Linked DNA regions of Homo sapiens: all the other regions are linked to region 3. Evidence: promoter capture Hi-C in 16 types of primary human blood cells and fetal thymus (Javierre and others, 2016). All regions are on one chromosome and are shown on one strand. Each heading gives the region's core, a stretch centred on a gene start or on the middle of the fragment in contact. The rest is flanking DNA. Distances are from core to core; before and after follow the strand shown.

What was found. The method cuts DNA at HindIII sites, captures the fragments that hold promoters and counts their contacts. A CHiCAGO score of 5 or more calls a contact.
Region 1: a fragment that was not itself captured here is called in contact with the fragment with the promoter of RAD54B in region 3 in 3 of 17 cell types (activated CD4 T cells, fetal thymus and total CD4 T cells); the score reaches 5.9 in activated CD4 T cells.
Region 2: a contact is called between a fragment that was not itself captured here and the fragment with the promoter of RAD54B in region 3, in 1 of 17 cell types (monocytes). The highest score is 5.3, in monocytes.
Region 4: a contact is called between a fragment that was not itself captured here and the fragment with the promoter of RAD54B in region 3, in 1 of 17 cell types (monocytes). The highest score is 7.1, in monocytes.

The regions. Positions count from the first base shown.
Region 1 is chr8:93,918,610-93,921,309 of GRCh38, reverse strand. The region is part of intron 1 of PDP1 (pyruvate dehydrogenase phosphatase catalytic subunit 1); the gene reads right to left. Among named protein-coding and RNA genes, the nearest start is that of PDP1, 3.0 kb to the right of the region's middle. The HindIII fragment of the contact is 2,309 bases long and covers 267-2,575 here.
Region 2 is chr8:95,277,377-95,280,076 of GRCh38, reverse strand. The region is part of intron 1 of CFAP418-AS1 (CFAP418 antisense RNA 1); the gene reads right to left. Among named protein-coding and RNA genes, the nearest start is that of TRS-AGA2-5, 9.0 kb to the right of the region's middle. The HindIII fragment of the contact is 834 bases long and covers 849-1,682 here.
Region 3 is chr8:94,473,788-94,476,487 of GRCh38, reverse strand. It overlaps RAD54B (RAD54 homolog B), which reads left to right and starts at 1,373. Exons shown (of 15, transcript NM_012415.3): 1 at 1,373-1,487. RefSeq lists an enhancer at 1,411-1,640. The HindIII fragment of the contact is 4,488 bases long and covers 1-2,081 here.
Region 4 is chr8:95,260,717-95,263,416 of GRCh38, reverse strand. The region is part of intron 2 of CFAP418 (cilia and flagella associated protein 418); the gene reads left to right. Among named protein-coding and RNA genes, the nearest start is that of CFAP418-AS1, 6.8 kb to the left of the region's middle. The HindIII fragment of the contact is 7,469 bases long and covers 1-2,700 here.

The DNA of each region.
Region 1 (2,700 bases), core at 172-2,671, 560 kb after region 3:
AGGCTAACGGGCATAGGTCTGCCACCAACTCCCAAATAATCTTGGAAAAGTCAGCTCACATCTTTGAGTCTCACTCTTCTAACCTGTAAAGGAACATCAACAGAGCAGATGCTATCTAAGGCTCTTCTAGGATTCATGCCTTTATGCTTATGGAAGTGAGGTTTTTAAATAAAATTCAGGTTTCATTTATTCACTGTTGAATTCTACCGTGCCCTTCATGATTAAAAAAAAAAAAAAAGTTTAAGTATTGCAGTAGCTCTAAAGCTTTGTTAGTAACATAAATGGTTTCAGTCCTAGAACTTAATTTACCTACTAACAATGTTCCCTGCTTAGCAGCTATAAGGAAAACCCATAGAAGTATTTTCATCTACTATGGATCCAAAGTAGAATTAACCCCTAGAAAAATGTTTTCTTGGATATGGTAATCACTCTGATTTGATCATTACACAATGTCTACCAATATATACATGCACTGAAACATCACATTGTACCCCATAAATATATAATATTATGTGTCAATTGTAAATTAAAAATAAATTTTAAAAGACCAAAAATGTTTTCTCTCACATTAAAAAAAAAAAAAAAAGGTATTTACTTGCTCCAGGGAAGCAGTATAGTCAAATAATAGTCTAAGGTTTGGATTGAAAAGGTACAGCAATATAATTACAAACTTAAAAAAAATCCTATCACTCACTATGTGCGCTGAAAATAATTTCTGGGCATTTATTTGGGAAATTTAATGAATATATCATTAATCTAGATAATTTGGGCAAGAAAAAAAATCCCTCTTCTTCCTCAATAACATATATTTTCCCTGAATTCTTGAGATACTGCTTCAAAATAGTCATTTGTACTATAAAGAAACACTTTGGAAATACTTTAAATAAACAAATGCAATAAACAAAAAGGAACACAGAAAATAAAACCATCTGAGTTAATAGCAACTATTCCTTCCCACGGCTAAACAAATATCATAGCATGTGTCAGCCATATATTATTTTCATGTACCTTTTTTGAAGAATAATTTGAGAAAAAGTAATAAATTGGGGTAGAGGGAAGCAAAGAAAACTAAACACTGAATAATCACTGATTCTTGTTTGTTTCTGTAATAAGCACTGCATAAGCCAGCCACACAGATTCTCTTCTGCAAGTAGTAGAAAGTACCATCATTTTAACTGCACTATCTAAGAAGGGATTTGTTTACGAAAATGAAGACAAGATCAGGCAATAGAAAGTAATGGCTAAAATTTTGGAAATAAGAATCCGTAACTAAAAAAGCATTCTGAAATGCACTAATGAAAAACAGAAATTCCAGAAAAACGGGAATCCATCAGGAGTAACCATTTAAATAAAAGAAATTCAAACTGAATACCTGAAAGTCATCCAGAGGTTAAGTGTACATGACTGAGCCAGAAGATGTGCTCAAATGTTGGGCCACATGACAGTGGCTTCCATACTTAAACCATATCTCTTTTTAGGTTTGCGTGCAGAAAGCATATCAACTCATTTTGTGCTTTGAATAAAGGTTTTCTATCATTAAAAATGTAAACTAATGTAATCTTAATGAATTTTTCTTCATAATTTTATGACTGCATTTGCTCTTTCTTTAAAACTTAAGAATCTTACAGAAAAAAACAATGAAAATGTGCCTGTATGGAACGTAAACTGACTCAAAATACTATTTGTGTGGGGGGGAGGGAGGGTTGATAGATGCATAACAGGGTTTGATTGTTTAATTAAGGAATAACAAGTCCTGGAAACCTGCACTTTCCTTAAATTCCTTTGCTTCGACATTTTTTTGCCGGGGGGGGGGAGGGAGGGCAGCGGGGGGAGGAATTTTGCTCTTGTTGCCCAGGCTGAAGTGCAATGGCGTGATCTCAGCTCATCGCAACCTCCGCCTCCCTGGTTCAAGCGATTCTCCTGCCCGGCTAATTCTGTATTTTCAGTAGAGATGGGGTTTCACCATGTTGGTCAGGTTGGTCTCGAACTCCTGACCTCAGGCCATCCACCCGCCTCAGCCTCCCAAAGTGCTGGGATTACAGGCATGAGCCACTGCACCCGGCTTGGTATGACATCTTTTCTACTTTTGTAATTGACTGCAAAATGAATGAAATCTAGTGACAAAAAGCAATGATTGACACAGCAGGTGCTTTTAACAATACTTACGTTCAAACATCAAATTCTCCACTACATTTTTCCTTCAAGGCAAAAATTCTTGAGATTAAAAACAAAAAATGAGAGAGTGAATTTTATTGACTCTATCTTTCAGTTATGCAGAGGCTTAGTACATGGACTGAGATTATATCCTAATGCCCCAACTTCCAACATGCCTTCAAAAGACAAAATTCCTAGGGAAGTTGGAATTTATGAAAACTGTGCTGTAATTAATGAGCGTTCTATCCGCATCGGTACAAGTGATACATTCTCTCCATCAGATCAGATACCCTTGGGAGTCAAAGTACTTTCAAATGCTTTCATAAATAAGTAAGCAATGAAAAACTCTTAATATCCTTCAGATTATCCACTGATTCAACAACAAGAAAACACTCTACATCATAACTTTTGCTGACAAGCTTGTTAAATTAGTGTAGAAGGCTCTTGATCAGGCAATAAGAACAGCATCCAGGTACAACTGTTGGTAAAACAGAGCAGTGTCAAATTTGCAAGTTATTCTTGATCACAATTTTCACGGAAAATTTC
Region 2 (2,700 bases), core at 16-2,515, 800 kb before region 3:
AAAGAATGATATTATATGTTAATAAAAAGTTAAAAACTGTAAGAACAGATAACAATATAAACATTTACACACCTAATAAAAGACCATCAAAATATATGAGGCAAAAACCAACAGAACTGAAGGGAGAAATAGATAGCTCTACAAGAATAGTTGGGCACTTCAATGCCCCACTTTCAATTGTGGATCAAACAACTATACAAAATATAAATAAGGAAATATAAGACTTAAAAAACACAATAAACCAACTAATAATAGATTTCATAGACATATACAGAACACTCTACCCATTGACAGCATCCACATTCTTCTCAAGTACATATAGGACATTTTCTAGGATTGGCCATATGTTAGGCTACAAATTAAGTCTCAATAGATTTTAAAAGATAGATATTATTCAAAGTATCTCCTTCAACCATAATAGAATAAAGTTAGAAATCAATACCGAAGTAACTGAAAATTTCACAAATTTTTGGAAATCAAACAACACACTCTTAAACAACCAACCAATGGATCAAAAAACAAATCACAAGGGAAATTAGAAAATACTTAGAGACTAATGAAAATGAAAACAACATACCAAAACATATAACACAGTGAAAGAAGTGCTAGGGGAGACATATATGGCTGTAAACACCTGCAGTAAAAAACAAGAAAGATCTCAAATCTACAACCTAAGTTTCAACTTAATGAACTAGAAAAAGAAGAGAAAACTAAACCCAAAACTAGCAAAAGGAAGGAAATAATAAAGATTGGAGCAAAGATAAGTGAAATAGAGAATAGAAAATCAAGAGAAAATCAATAAAATGTGAAGTTAGCTTTTTGAAAAGACAGACAAGATTGACAAAGCTTTAGCTAGACAGAACAAGAAAGAAAAGACAGAAGATTCAAATTACTAAAATCAGAAATAAAAGTGGGGACATTACTACCGATTCTACAGAAATAAAAAGGATTATAAGAGAGCACTATGAACAATTATATGCCAACAAATTGAATAGCCTAGAAGAAATGGAAAAATTCCTAGAAACACAAAACCTACCAAGACAAGATCATGAAGAAATAGAAAATCCGAACAGACCTATAAGTAGTAAGGAGATTGAATCAGTAATCCAAAATCTCCTGACAAAGAAAAGCCCTGCACTTGAGGGCTTCACTTGTGAATTCTACCAAACATTTAAAGGCAAACTAATACCAATTCTGCTCAAACCTTTCCAAAATATTGAAGAGGAGGAAACATTTCCTAACTTACGCTAGAAAGACCAAGGGACTTAAATAGCTTTCGGTTCTAAGAGTTTTAGTCATACTGTACTTAGAGCATGGATATTGATCTGGATTTCAGTCACAGGCCAGTGTGCAAATTCAGCACATGACTCCTTCCTTGAAATACAGACTTATAAACTTTTCCTGGCTGACTGAACTTGCTGGCCTTTTCCTTTACACTCATGTCTCTTTTCTGTGTATGTAGGATGGTTACTGGAAAATGTTAACAGTATACAGACACATGTTACACAAAACATGGCAATAAATGTAGAATAATGAAACTGGCAAGAGGATTACAAACTTATATGCAATAACAGACCTTGAACTGGAAAGATCCCCCAAACAAAAATTTAAGAATTAAGTTGTCTGGTTGAGAAAATTTGTCTGCCAAGTCCTCACAAGTAATTAGAAAATCAAATAAAGCTTATTCCTCTCCTAGTCTCAGTTTTGTTTTGTTTTAATGAGAAGGAGAGACAACAATAAGATAGATAATAAAGCATGTAAAATATAGTACAGCATGGTAAAATGAACATGAATTTTACAGTTAGACCCAGGTTATATGACCTTGGACTAATAACTTTACCTCTCTGTCCTTACTTCCTTTTTTTTTTTTTTTTTTTTGAGATAGGGTCTTGCTCTGTCACCCAGGCTGGAGTGTAGTGGCGCAATCTTGGCGCACTGCAACCTCAATCTCCTGGATTCAAGTGATCCTCCCACCTCGGCCTTCCTAGTAGCTGGGACCACAGGTACACGCCACCACACCCAGCAATTTTTGTATTTTTTTAGTAGAGACAGAGTTTCACCGTGTTGCTCGGACTGGTTTCCAACTCCTGAGCTCAAGTGATCTGGCAGCCTCAGCCTCCCAAAGTGCTGGGATTACAGGCATGAGCCACTATGCCTTTCTCTGTCCCTGTTTCCTGATCTACAGTGATTAAGTAAAATAAGTTCTATAAAGAGCTCAGAATAAGGTAGGTATGCAAAAAAATATGTTATACACATGATGATACTATAGCCAACACATCATTGCCAAGAGGCATGCAGAGACCTCGATACCAGGATGACAAGGAGATGGAAGCCATTCCAGTATGGCTCAAGCTAAAAGAACTGACCTGAGCTTGGGCTTATTTGTCCATCAGACTACATCACAGTATTTAAAGGCAAGCTTAATCTGATCCAGGCTGGCACTTATACCCAAGGGCCTAGAAATGGAGGCCTAGAAAGATATGACTGTGGAGATAGTCATAGTCAAGTGGTTAACAATTTGATTCCAGACAGACTCATTCATGTTAAAACATACCCTTGGCCAGGACCAAAAGAGATAAGGGGCTGATCCCCCAAAAACAGGGGTCAGCACAAGCCAGGAGTTTGTCAGGGCCCTTGTACTAGGCTGAAAAATGGCCCCCAAAATGATATCAAATCACATCGAATCCCTGGAACCTAAAA
Region 3 (2,700 bases), core at 124-2,623:
GAGTAATGATCTGAAGTGAAGGATCAAACCAGATGCAAATCTGCAAGAGGAATGTCCCAGGTCACCTTTAGCCAATCTGTTTTAGATTTTCTGAACTCCCCAGATGATATTAAGGTAGGCTGCAGACACTATGAAGCTAGCTTGTTTTCTGGTTACCCTTACTCTTTATGTGTCCCAGTCCAAAGAAGAGGGGGGTGCGGTTTACTAAGGTGCCCAACCTTGGCAGGTCCCCATTTCAAATTCTTGTAACGCTGGCTCCAGGAGCTGCCAAAAGCACAACTCAACCTATGAGGTGCTCTTTATGACTGGAAAAAGTCCCCAGGATAAAAGCTCCTTAAGCACATTACTCTTTTTTTTTGAAACAGGGTCTCTCTGCTGCCCAGGCTGGAGTGCTGCGGCACCATCTCGGTTCATTGCAGCCTTCACCTCCCAGGTTCAAGCGATTCTCCCGCCTTAGTCTGCTGAGTAGCTGGGATTACAGGCGCGCTCCACCAAAACCAGCTAATTTTTGTATTTTTAGTACAGACCGGGTTTCACCATGTTGGCCAGGCTGGTCTCGAACTCCTGACCTCAAGTGATCCGCCCGCCTCGGCCTCCCAAAGTACTGGGATTACAGGCACAAGCCACCGCTCTCAGCCTCAAATTACTCTTTTAAATGGCTGTACCTATTTACACTCCTACCAGCAGCCCAAGAGTTCCCATTGTTTCACATCTTCATTTCACCCTTGATATTTTTTAGCTTTTACTTTTTGTCAAACTGCTGGATAAAACTCAATAAACAACCTTTAGCCATTCTCTCTCCTTTCAGATTAGCCTTTCTAATACCATTTTTCAGGGATAGTTGACTGTGTTACCGCCTAGCACTTAGAAGGTGCTCAGTAAATACTCATTGAATGATGTAACTTTCCTACTTAACATGCTTTAATGCTTTTCCAAGTCCGGAGGCGGCTCCCCTTTTCTGAGAGCCTAATAATCACGTATTCGTTTCTATATTCCCAGAACCTAACAAAGAGTTTGAAAATTATCCTGCAGGCACCGCTAAGTCAATGTTTTTTCGGATGAATGAATAACCAATAGGATATCGTATACTTCTGCGATGCACGCATTTCTATTATCGCACACACCGAATCATACCGTATTTATTACTTATCCACGCAGATGGTGAGGTCTGTAGCCTCGGCATCTACACTGTGTCTGAAAGTAGGCACTAAACCAGTATTTTTTTAATTGAACCGTAAACTTGAATCAAACTTGGAAGCATTTAAAGCCAAACGCAAAGATACATGCGCAGTGATGCAGTAGGGTCGTCCAATCAGAGTAGGGCAGGACAGGGCAGTGCAGCGGCTAGGTAGTGCGCACGCGCGGCGGGCTCGTCCGCGATTGGCTTCGCCGAGGCGGGATCCTTGAGCTTCTCCGGCGGCGAGGGGATAGCTGGTTACCAGAAGGACTTCTTTGCAGGGCCAGTGGTTTCTGTCAGATTTTCGCCGGTGCGTCCTGCAGGGGGAAGCTCGGGAGGCTGCGACAGCCTGTAGGCTCGTGCGGGACAAAGCAGGGAGTGGCGCCGGAGCAGGCCAACGAGGGAGGAGGGAGGGAAGGCGGCAGGAGCGACCGAAGTGGCCTTCTGCGGGCCTGCAGCTTTGGTCTGAAGTGCCAGGGACGCCCTGGTTGCTGGCCCCGGGGGCCTTGGAGCGAAGGGCGGGCGGTGGGGGTTTAGGGTTGTGCGTTTGTGTGGGAGGGATGGTTCTGGGCAGTGGCCCCTGGGGCCGCCACTGCGGTCGCTTTGCGCAGGCTCCTCTTGGCTTTTGGGTCTCTCCCTCACTCCTGCACTGGGAATTTCCTTCCCCAGGGCCAGGGGGTGAAGGCTCTGCGAGCGTCCTGGAGAGTGTCGGTACGCCTTCTTTAGGGGCTTTTACCTCTTCACTGGTCAGGTTTTTCTTGTATTTCCTTAAAACCTTTTAATCGATTACCTTATGGAAGATTTTCTAGGTAGGAACAGATGCTTCTCGACTTACTACGGGGTTGAAAATATCCCAAATGGAAAATGGATTTAAAACACAGCTAACCTACTGAGTATTAAAGCTTGGCCTAGCCTACTTTTGTTATCAAAAAAATTATTTTCAGCTGTTTATTTTAGATTTGGGGGTACATGTGCAGGTTTGTTGCATCGGTATATTACGTGGTGCTGAGGTTTGGATACGATTGATCCTGTCACCCAGGTAGTGAGCATGTTACCCAATAGTTTTTGAACCCTTGCTCCTCCTTTCCTCTCCCTTCTAGTTGTCTCCACTGTCTATTGTTGCCATCTTTATGTTCATGAATGCCCAATGTTTAGCTCCCATTTATAAGTGAGAACATGCAATATTTGATTTTCTGTTTCTGCTTTAATTCGCTTTGGATAATAGCCTCCAGCTGCACCCATGTTGCTGCAAAGGACATGATTTCATTCCTTTTTATGGCTGCGCTAGCCTACCTTAAACATGCTCAGAACACTTACCTTAATCTACAGTTGGGCAAAATCATGAACACAGACGGTTGTGTGGTTACTTGTACAGTTTCTACTGAATGCTCATGGCTTTCTTAAAAGTCGAAGAATTCTAAGTGACACCGTCCTAAATTAGGAACCATCTATATAGCCGGAGTCTCAAAGGAGCAATTTAAGGCATGAAGTGAAATAATTACTACCTAATGTAGTTGGAAGTC
Region 4 (2,700 bases), core at 4-2,503, 790 kb before region 3:
GTATTTATTTGTAGTATCTAAGGACACTTTTCTAAAAGGCCAAAAACAAACAGCTTTCATTGTAGGAATGTGCTTAGCACCTCACATGCAATGCCATTGCTCTTATCCCATGAAGCAATGACTAAATTGTTAATATTTCAGTTTTTTAAATGTTTGTATGTCTATTTTAGCTGCATAAAAAGTTCAGAAAGTAATATAACAGCAACCTATATACTGAACATACCATGACAGCCACCCATATTAAACATATATTAATGTTTTGCCACATTTGCTTTACTGGACCTTTTTTTTTAAAAAGAAGTACAAATTAAAGATATAGTTTAAGACCTCTCTAAATCCTATTCTATTGCCTTCCTTCCCAAAGATAACCATTTATCCTTTCCATCCATACATTTATACTTTCATTACATATGTACATAACCATAAACAATTCTAACTGTGTACAGTAGTCCATTGTATAACTCTGCCACAGTTTATCCACTTCCCTGATGATGGACATTTAGATTGTGCTCAGTTGTTTGCTATTACAAATAGTGCTTCATCAGATACCTTTTTTTTAATCGGAGAAAAGGCATACAAATTTTGACATGTACACAGGGAAAACCAGTGATTACGCCTTCATTAGATATCTTTACATGGCTTCTTTTACCCATATACGGAAGTTTCTCTAGGGTGTATAAAGCTAGAAGAGGAATTCCTAGGTCATAAGGTGTGCTCATCTTCAACTTTTCTACCCATTGCCAAATTGTTTTCCAAAGTGACTTTATCACTTAACATTTTTCATACTGGGCAGTATATGAGAATTTATGTATTTTAATTTTTATCAGTATGGTGTGTGTCAAGCATTATCTGTTAGATTTAAAAGAAAGATACAAAAATAGAAGTCTAATTTACAAAGATCACAAAAAAATTTAAGAAATAACTATAGTACCAGGGTTTTGTTTTTTAAAGGATAGGGAAGATAAAAGCAAAACAGTGGACTGAAAATACCTAGGTAATGGTTGTGGTAAGAATATGGATAGGGACCACTTACATTTTTGTCACCCAGACTAAAAATCAAGTGACTAGTATAGATTTTAGAAAATTAAACTTTTTCAATTCACCTGAAGTAAATTAATAAGCACATGCCAAGTTGAATAATATGTAAACACAATAGCAATATTAAATACAGTCATTCCTTGGTATACTCAAGGGATTGGTTCCAGGACCCCCACATATACCAAAATCCATACATACTCAAGTTCCACAGTCAGCCTTACAGAACCCACCTTATGAAAAGTTGGCCCTCTGTACGTGGGGTTTCGCATGCCACAAATACTGTATTTTTGATCCTTGTTTGGTTGGAAAAATTCCACATATAAGTGGACTTGTGCAGTTGAAACGCATGTTGTTCAAGGGTCACCTGTACCCTGCAAATAGAATACTTCCTAAATACTGAGTAAGTGCATAAGCACTGAATAGTAATGCCAATTAGTAGTACTAATTAATGGTAGAAAAAAATTACATCATTTTGTTGCTCTTCATTAATCATCTGAGCAATTCATTGTTTATTAAGTACCAATAGGGTGCATATCTGTATATGAGGCGCTATCTTTTCAGTTAAGGTGTTTCAGAAGAAGATAAGTACTTCTCTGGTTTGGCTTTAAGATATACTAATTTGAAATAAAAGTAGCTCTTATAATCATGAAGAAGTAAATTTTTAATCATGATCTTTTCCTTTTTTAGTTATGTATTATGTCCAGTTTTCCAACCTTCAAAGGAGACAGCAGGTCTAAGTAAAACATTTATTGGGAAAAAAAAACATGTATTAACAAAAGAAACATAGATAAACAGATAGTCTATGCCAACGTTGTCATTAGAGGCTATATTATGCCCTGACAATACTACTCCCTTACCGCACCTCCTGCTCTCCCATTCTGTCGCATTTCTGAACTGTTCCCAGACCCACACAAGAAAGCCCAGGAACCAACAACAAACCTCAGAGTGTGCCAGCTTAGAGTCATAAGCCTGAGTCTGGATGGCACATGAAACATGCTCCCCAAACAGAAAGATTCGTGCATATTATTATTTTTCAAACATGTACCAAAATTTTTTCCATTTCTGCTTAACATCAAATAAGAGTTGAGAGACATAGTAAAACAATATTTTCGCCTCTATTAAATTTCCTCACCCACTATGTAAAATGAAGGCATGTCTCTGCATAGTTTAAATTGCCTTTTCTCCATCTCACTTCCTCTCCTTGGCGGTGGTCCTAGTGTGTGGTTGGTTTATGTTGTTTGGTACCATATACCAGTTAACACTTAATAAATGCTTGCTAATGATGATGATACTATGTAACCATATAGGAACTACTGTATGGTTGTGACTAGGTAGTTCTACATTTTCCTTGCACATTTATTGGTTGATGCCATTCCATTTGATCAAAATTAATATTCCTGAAGTTACACAGGAGCTTGGTTAATTTTAATTCATATGACGCACATTCACAGCCTTTAAAAATGAGTCTGAGGTTTTTTTCCTCCTCAATTGAATTTTTCTAGAATGAAGTTTTAAATAGCAGGTCCTTCATATTAAATCATTGAACTGTAATATTAACTGAAGAGTTATAAAGTGACTCTAAATCTTAGCATGCTAATAATGGCAATATATCAGTTTCCTAGCCTAAAAGTTAGTAGAGTAATTTGCACATTCCTTAGGGAG